Regions from separate parts of the Homo sapiens genome. Here region 2 is linked to region 1. The links are contacts of gene promoters, found by promoter capture Hi-C in human tissues and cell types (Jung and others, 2019). All regions are on one chromosome and are shown on one strand. The core of a region is centred on a gene start or on the middle of the fragment in contact, and the rest is flanking DNA. Distances in the headings are between cores, read along the strand shown.

What was found. The method cuts DNA at HindIII sites, captures the fragments that hold promoters and counts their contacts. A contact is called where the count stands out against the background at its distance.
Region 2: a contact is called between a fragment that was not itself captured here and the fragment with the promoter of KRTAP27-1 in region 1, in 3 of the 25 tissues and cell types used here (heart right ventricle, ovary and small bowel).

Annotation. Positions count from the first base shown.
Region 1 is chr21:30,335,128-30,338,943 of GRCh38, forward strand. KRTAP27-1 (keratin associated protein 27-1) reads right to left here and starts at 2,567. Exons shown (of 1, transcript NM_001077711.1): 1 at 1,886-2,567. The coding sequence starts at 2,541. The coding sequence ends at 1,918. The HindIII fragment of the contact is 14,979 bases long and covers 1-3,816 here.
Region 2 is chr21:30,220,287-30,223,783 of GRCh38, forward strand. No RefSeq gene overlaps it. Among named protein-coding and RNA genes, the nearest start is that of CLDN8, 5.9 kb to the left of the region's middle. The HindIII fragment of the contact is 8,230 bases long and covers 1-3,497 here.

The DNA of each region.
Region 1 (3,816 bases), core at 1,317-3,816:
GTAGCATTAGGTTTGCCATAGATTCAGAGATACTTGCCAATTTACTTCAACTAGACAGCGTTTAAGTTTCTTAATTTTCTCCCTTAGTAGATGATGCTGCCTGCATCTTCCAAAATACAAAACAGCTAATCTCTCTTTTGTTGGATGACTAGCTTTCCTAATCTCTCATGGATTTCTGGGTTTATTTACAAATCCCCACTACCTCCCCCATACCAAGTCTCTGAGCTAGCTGAGTTGCTAAATATGCTATATACATGGTAATTTTTTAAGCCTTACACTTTCAATTTATTAACTTATTAAGGCTCACAGTAGCCCTATTATTATCCTTCACTTTTGAAGTTGAAGAAACTGAGGTGGTTAAATAACTTGCACACAGTCACACAGTTGGAACTTAAACAGCCATCACTAAGCAAAGCTAAGATTCCAGCTCAAGGAAATCCATATTCAGAGTTCATGCTCTCAACCACTACCTTATTTTGCCCTGAAAAAATGTGAGATCCAAGGCCAGGCATGGTGGCTCACGCCTGTAATCCCAGCACTTTGGGAGGCCGAGGCAGGCGGATCACGAGGTCAGGAGATTGAGACCATCCTGGCTAATGTGGTGAAACCCGTTTCTACTACAAATACAAAAAATTAGCCGGGCATGGTGGCAGGCACCTGTAGTCCCAGCTACTCGGGAGTCTGAGGCAGGAGAATGGCGTGAACCCAGGAAGCAGAGCTTGCAGTGAGCCGAGATTGCGCCACTGCACTCCAGCCTGGGTGACATAGCGAGACTCCATCTCAAAAAAAAAAAAAAAAATTGAAAGATCAATTTAAGAACACACCAAAAGTTTCAGAATAGCTAAGCTACCTAAATAAAATTAATCAATTTCAAACATCTGACTCTATGGTCTTATGATGTTCATATGAGTATATTTTCCATCTTCTGTTGACTACCACCATGAGTTATTCTTTTCTGGTTCACACTATAAAAATTATAACAAGAGGATATGTTCTCTTTTCTTCTAAATATTTATACTATTTTCATTAGGTAACAAACGAAGAAACAAAAAGCCTGTAACATAACACCTGCAAAAGGATTGAATAAAAATAATAGTGTGACAAGTCCAAATTTTGCTTCCAAAGAAAGCAAATTTATTTAATACAAAGAATATTTTCCAAACTCAAAAAATACTTAAGAAATAATGAAAACAGGAAAAAAACAAACAACCAAAAAAACAACGGGAACGAAATGAAGTGAAGATTCTAAACTTCAATTCATTCTATTTAAAGGCTTCTGGTTGCTACGTGGTTATAAAGCCCATGGAGGTGAAATTCAAAATTACCTTGCTCTATTCGAACAATAGACTTAATCTTCTAGTTAATTTGAGAATGTTGTGATTCAATGGCTAAAATAACAGATGGCCAGTGAGTAGGCCTGGATTTTAGTTGTGGTTCTGATGTTATTAACTACTTGGGCAACCTCTGATAGAGTTGAACCTATCGTAATTCACAGGACTAGGTAGGCTTTTAGGTTTGGTTCCAATATTTTATGAATTTCTGAGACTAGTAGCACATTACTTAATAAACCAGATCCAATGCTAAGTATTTCCAAAGAAAACAACTTGCAGTTAAAGTGTGATGTTTCCTTTAAGTATTCATGTTATTTCCTGGCTACAGCTCTTATTGCTTAATAACAAATCGTATCCTACTGCTCTAAAATAGCTAGCATGCTTTCCAACCCCAGATTACCACTAGACATACCCAAAAGAAAAACAAGAAAAAAAATCTTGTCTTTGGAGACAGTAGTAAAATAAGACATGTTCATTTACTAACAAACACACACAACATTTTTTATTTAAAGAAATACAAAATATCTAAGTATCTCAAAAATAAATTCATCCAAATGAGAATATAAGCCATCTCCCCTACAGATCTTCACTTACTAGGCAATTGAGAACCACCAGTAACACAGCAAGTTGGTTCAACTCCTGGAGAAGATTCCAGGAGTTGTGGCTCAGGTGCAACATTGACCAGAGGTCTACAGGAACTGGATTCAGGGTTCTGAGACTGACACTGACATTGGCTAGATGCACGTTCCAGAGTTTCGAAATTTTTAGACTTAGAAGTCTTGGGTGGGCAACTGTTTCCCTTGAGGCTTGCAGGTTGGCAGCTCTGGGCTACAAAACCCATCTGCTGAGTGCTTTCTGATTGGCAAGGCTGAGAAACACAAGCCAGCCCTGCTGAAGAACTTTCTGATTGGCACGCTGTCCTTTCGCAGGGCCTGGAATTGGAGTAAGTAGTTTGGACAACTCCGGGGAAGCAGTTACTTTGCACACAGCTATCGTCTGTGAATAAGTCCTGTTCACAATTGGTCATTTGGCAGCTGGTGGTTTCATTGCAGGTTTCTTGAAAGTTGTCCAGGAAACAGGTTCTGCTATGGAAGCTGCTGGGCAAACACAATCTGTCTTCAAAGGTTATAGGATTAGTGCCATGTGTGATGGCAGAGAGTGGTGGGGCATTGTGGAAGCTCCTGAGTGAATGGCAGTGGCTATGAGGCATATTGCTAAAAATCCTTAAAGATGGTCATAAGGACTCAACATGCTGAGTTTGAAAATTAAATTCTTTGGTGCGGCGATTATATACTCAGAAACCTGGGTGTTGGCTTCTCAAGACTTCTTTGCAACTCATTGCTTAAACTAATTTGAAGGATAACATCTCATTACCACTTTGGTTATATATGCAGATGATGTCTTATTAACAAAGATGTAAGTCCATTTTGAATCTTCAAAATGGCTTTTATGTTAGCTCCAAAGATGACTCATTCAAGGTGGGGTTGGTCAAATAAGAGTCTAAACCTGTCCAACCAAGCTAACATTTTTTTTTTTTTTTGCCACCATGACTCTGCACATTGGTAAGTGGACAATGAGAAATGCATGAGGCAGTGGCCAACTGAATACTGATTAACATTTAGCACTGGTTTTGAGAGCTGCCAATGTAGCAGAATGTGGTAATTTGATGTTCAAGACATTTAAAGTTAGAATTGGATCCAGGTTGAGCCCAATCTCATTCCACTCAGATATTGTTCTCTCCAGTGGACCAGAATGTGAGAGGACTTTGTGATCACATTCCTTCTCAGTGTTCATGCAAAGTACTGAGTGTGGCCATTGCCCAATAAATACTTGTCTTTTGCCTAACATTTCGTTTCCCTAATCTCCTTGAAAGCCAAGTTTAAATGCGTCCTTTTCCTGAAGTCTTCCCCAATCTTCCCATTTAGGAGTTATTTCTTCCTTTTCTGAATTACTAATGGATTTAATTCCTTTTTTCTATACTTGACAAAGTGGTGTGTTTACTTGTGTTTGTGCTTCTCAAAGGTTGATTATTTTCCTTTATAATGAACCTTCTTCAGATATTTTTCATCTTTATTCTGTGCTTTTTTTATTGACTGCAGACAGATGATCAGTTCCTATGTTTATCGCATTAGGACACCGTTCTTAGCATAGTTTCATACTCATGGCACAGAGCCAACCAGCACAATTTCTATAACATATTCTATAATATATTTGGCTCAGCTAATGACAATAAAATAGAAGTATAGTCTTAGTGCACTAACTAGACTCCCTTTCTAAGGTCTGAAGAAGCCCAAGAACATTCAGCAATTCTCAGTAATTCTTATGCAAACACTTCCTTGAAAGACTGAGGATATTATAAATTTAAAAGGGCACATCTGAATACTTTCAGCTTTATAGGCTGCACACTCATCTTGTATACAATACCTTTGTAACACACGCAAGTCATTTATAATTTTGAATAACCACACTTGTATGTTTAAAGATC
Region 2 (3,497 bases), core at 74-2,573, 120 kb before region 1:
CTTCTTATAAAGACACTAATACCGTCATGAAGATTTCACTTTCATGACCTCCTCTACAACTCTCAAAGTTTCACTCTCAAAGACCTCACTTCCAAATCCCATCACATTGGGGGTTAACATTTCAACATATGAATTTAGTGGGTACACAAATATCCGGTCTGTAACATCTAGCTACTAACAAATTCAAGCAATAAAATTTGCATAATTCTGAAGGGTCTACTGGTGCTTAAGAACTTCACCCATATTATATCACCCATATCAATATTTCATTTTTCCAAGATGAAAAAAGAATGGTGAACATGAATTAAAAAATCAATAATAGAAATAGTGTCATGGACATGTTTTTACCTTTCTTTCGCTTTTCATTGCATTAAAAAAATTAAAACCTAAGTATAGGATGAATTCTGATATATTTTGAAAGACAGGTCTGTGTATTTCATGTGATATATTTGATGTCTCTACTAAAGTACTGGAAATCCAGGGAGATAACTGAAAAAAGCAAAACTGTATACTGTGGAAATTTTCCTATAAATTAATGAGTAATTTATATATGGAGAATTGATGATGTGAAATACCCTAATTCTAATGATTTCAGGAAAAATTTTAAAAAAGAAAGAATTTGCTGGTAATAGCAGCTACTGAGTATTAAATGTTCTCTATACAATACATTCTTTTTATCACTCTACTTTATACTTAAAACATTTTTAGAAAGCAGGGGTCATTACTCTCCTTTTATAATTGAATAAATTAAAACTCAAGAGAGACTGCCTTTTTTAAGGCCACACAGACTTTGCTGGTTGAATCTACAGAAATGGAATTCAGAAGCAGACCTAAAGCCCACATTCTTTTCTGTATTGCCTACCATCTCCTTAAAGAGAACTAGGGAAACAGAATTTCTTACATTGGCATATATGGTCAGAGTTAATTAAGATATAAAATATGTTCAAAACATTTTTCGTCCTTGCTTAGCACATTGTTGTAAAAATTTTGCATGGCCAACCTTCGCAATTTTTAAAACATACCTGCTTCACTGAAATTTGAAATCTACCTCTTTAGATACTCTATTCAAAGGAGTTTCTACTGGGGAAATATTGGCAATTTCAATAAAATTATTCCTTGTTTAGAATTTGAGAGAGTTCCCTGTGCTGAAGGTACCAGTGGCACCCCTTTTTCCTTCACTTCCCATGCTTGTCCCCATCTTCGTGATTCCTTAATTACAGACTAGGTCGTGATACTGAATGACCTAACCACCACTGAACAAGTATTTGGCTAAAGTAAGCATTAAACTATTTCAATGCAATGAAAGTGAACAGTTACATGTGTCTGTGCCCTCAGCTAATTATAATACAGAGAAACTTTCCTTTGTATTTTATAGGGACTTCTTAGTGACCAACAGAGGAATGATTCTATGGTTACCTTCATTAGTCCATTAAAATTGCTTTTTCAGGTGACTCACTAACAACTTTTCTTTTTACCTTTTCCAAACGCTAAAATTAAAAAAAAAAAAACATTTTTAAGTTGTATAAAACTGTTTTCCACATGGTTATTTTTGGAATTGCTTGAAAAACAAATTTTTTAAAAAAATCCCTTAATCTCCCATAATAATCCTTTCTACTGAAATGTAAAGCATATGAAGCATTGAATGAGGAGAACAAACGGTCCATGACAAAAGTTTCTGGCCAGGCAGAGACTGTAATTAGTACTAAAAATGATAACATCAGATAATGAACAGGACCAAAACAGAGCACTTTTCATAATTTTATTTTGAATCCACAGCAATTCACAAGTTTAAGTCATGTTAATTATAAAAAGGAAGAGAAGAGAAAAGGCACATAGGATAATAGATAATATATTTAATATGACTATGCTTAAAATAATATATTTTAATAAATATTACTTAATCCTAGTCATAAGAACTACTTAATAATTACTAAGTTATATGAACAATTAAGATTAAGTGATATCATATTAGTTAACCATATGATTTCAGCCTCCCAACGCCCTTATTAGAAAAGCCCTTTATTATGTCAGTTTTACTAGGAAACTGGAATTTACAAAGTTTAAATAACTGACCCAAATCCTCACAACAAACTGGTAAAAAAAGCCAATATGGGAACTCTATTCTGTCAAACACCTGAGGCTACACTCTTGACCCACTATGTGCTACAAGTCATTATAGACCTACCTGTAAACCTAATTGAAAGCTTGTGTCAATGTGTAGTTTTATCTCTTATAAAGCATATAAGTTTTGGTAGATCAGAAGGAGTTCTCTGAAACAATGTCCTTCACATTGTGAATTTTCAATAGGATTTTGAGCATTATAAGGAGAAATGAAGTGTTTCCATTTTCTGCAGCAACATGCATTGTTTAATATGAGAAATCATAAGATATGAGGGAAATCATAAGATATAAGGGAAAAGTCCACACAAATGGAAAACACATACAAGGGTGCACACACACACACATACACACACACACAAAATGTCCTTATAAGCAAACAATGAATATAGGAGCACAAGAAACAATTTCCCTTGTAAAGTTGAAGTTAACAGGACAGGGAACAGGACAGGGAAAAGTAATTAACTGGGCAAATAGAGCTAAGCCACATTACTGATTAATTTGCAAAACAATTAACTTTCCACTTAAAATTCAAATTAAGATTCTGTCTGCCTTAGGCAACCAGTGTTTGCAAATTTTAATAGGGCTAGACATTAAGTGCCTTACTTAAAACCAACTTTACATGGCACTGGGTGAGAATATTATTGGAACAAGCAGCTCATGGCATTCTTGGGTTTCAGTTATTTTTTTAAGAGAAAATATTACAATCTATAATAATATGCTGGATGCACTAAAATTTTTTCAATGAGAATATGAGTAAAACTAAAAGTTATTCAACTCCTCATCTCAAATATTTATAGAGATTTTGTACTTTCTGTAAAATTTTCAAGACGATGTCTCATAAAACATCTTCTGAACACTTATTTTCCAACCGTTCAACAAGTATACTATGTACCAGGCCCTGTGATAGACTCTGGAAACCAAGAAATATGAGGCATAGTTTCTTTTCTTTGTAATTTTACATCCACAAAACTGAGGGGCTAGTGGAAGAAAGAACTGCTGAGTCAATTAACTCTGTCATTGGTTAAACTTGTTAACCAACTATTCTTTTCAACTTGAAAAAGCATACAAGTAGCCACACAGACAGGTGAGAACAGCCACCCTTCACTCCATTGAAAAAAAAGCAGCTTCCAGGGTTTTGATGTTTTCTAAACAAGATCAAACAATCAATGAAAAGCAATGCCAGGAGTCTATAAACATTCAGCAGAGGTAAGCTGGCTGTCTCACATTTTCACACACCTTTCTGGTTCATGCAGCTCCTATTTCTTGTTCTTATCTTTCTTTTTCTCTGACCTACGTTCCAGATATCTTTAGAGTTGCTGCTATGGGGAGCTGTATGTGATTATCTGACTGGCTTCTGGGCATCTTTTTCATAGTTT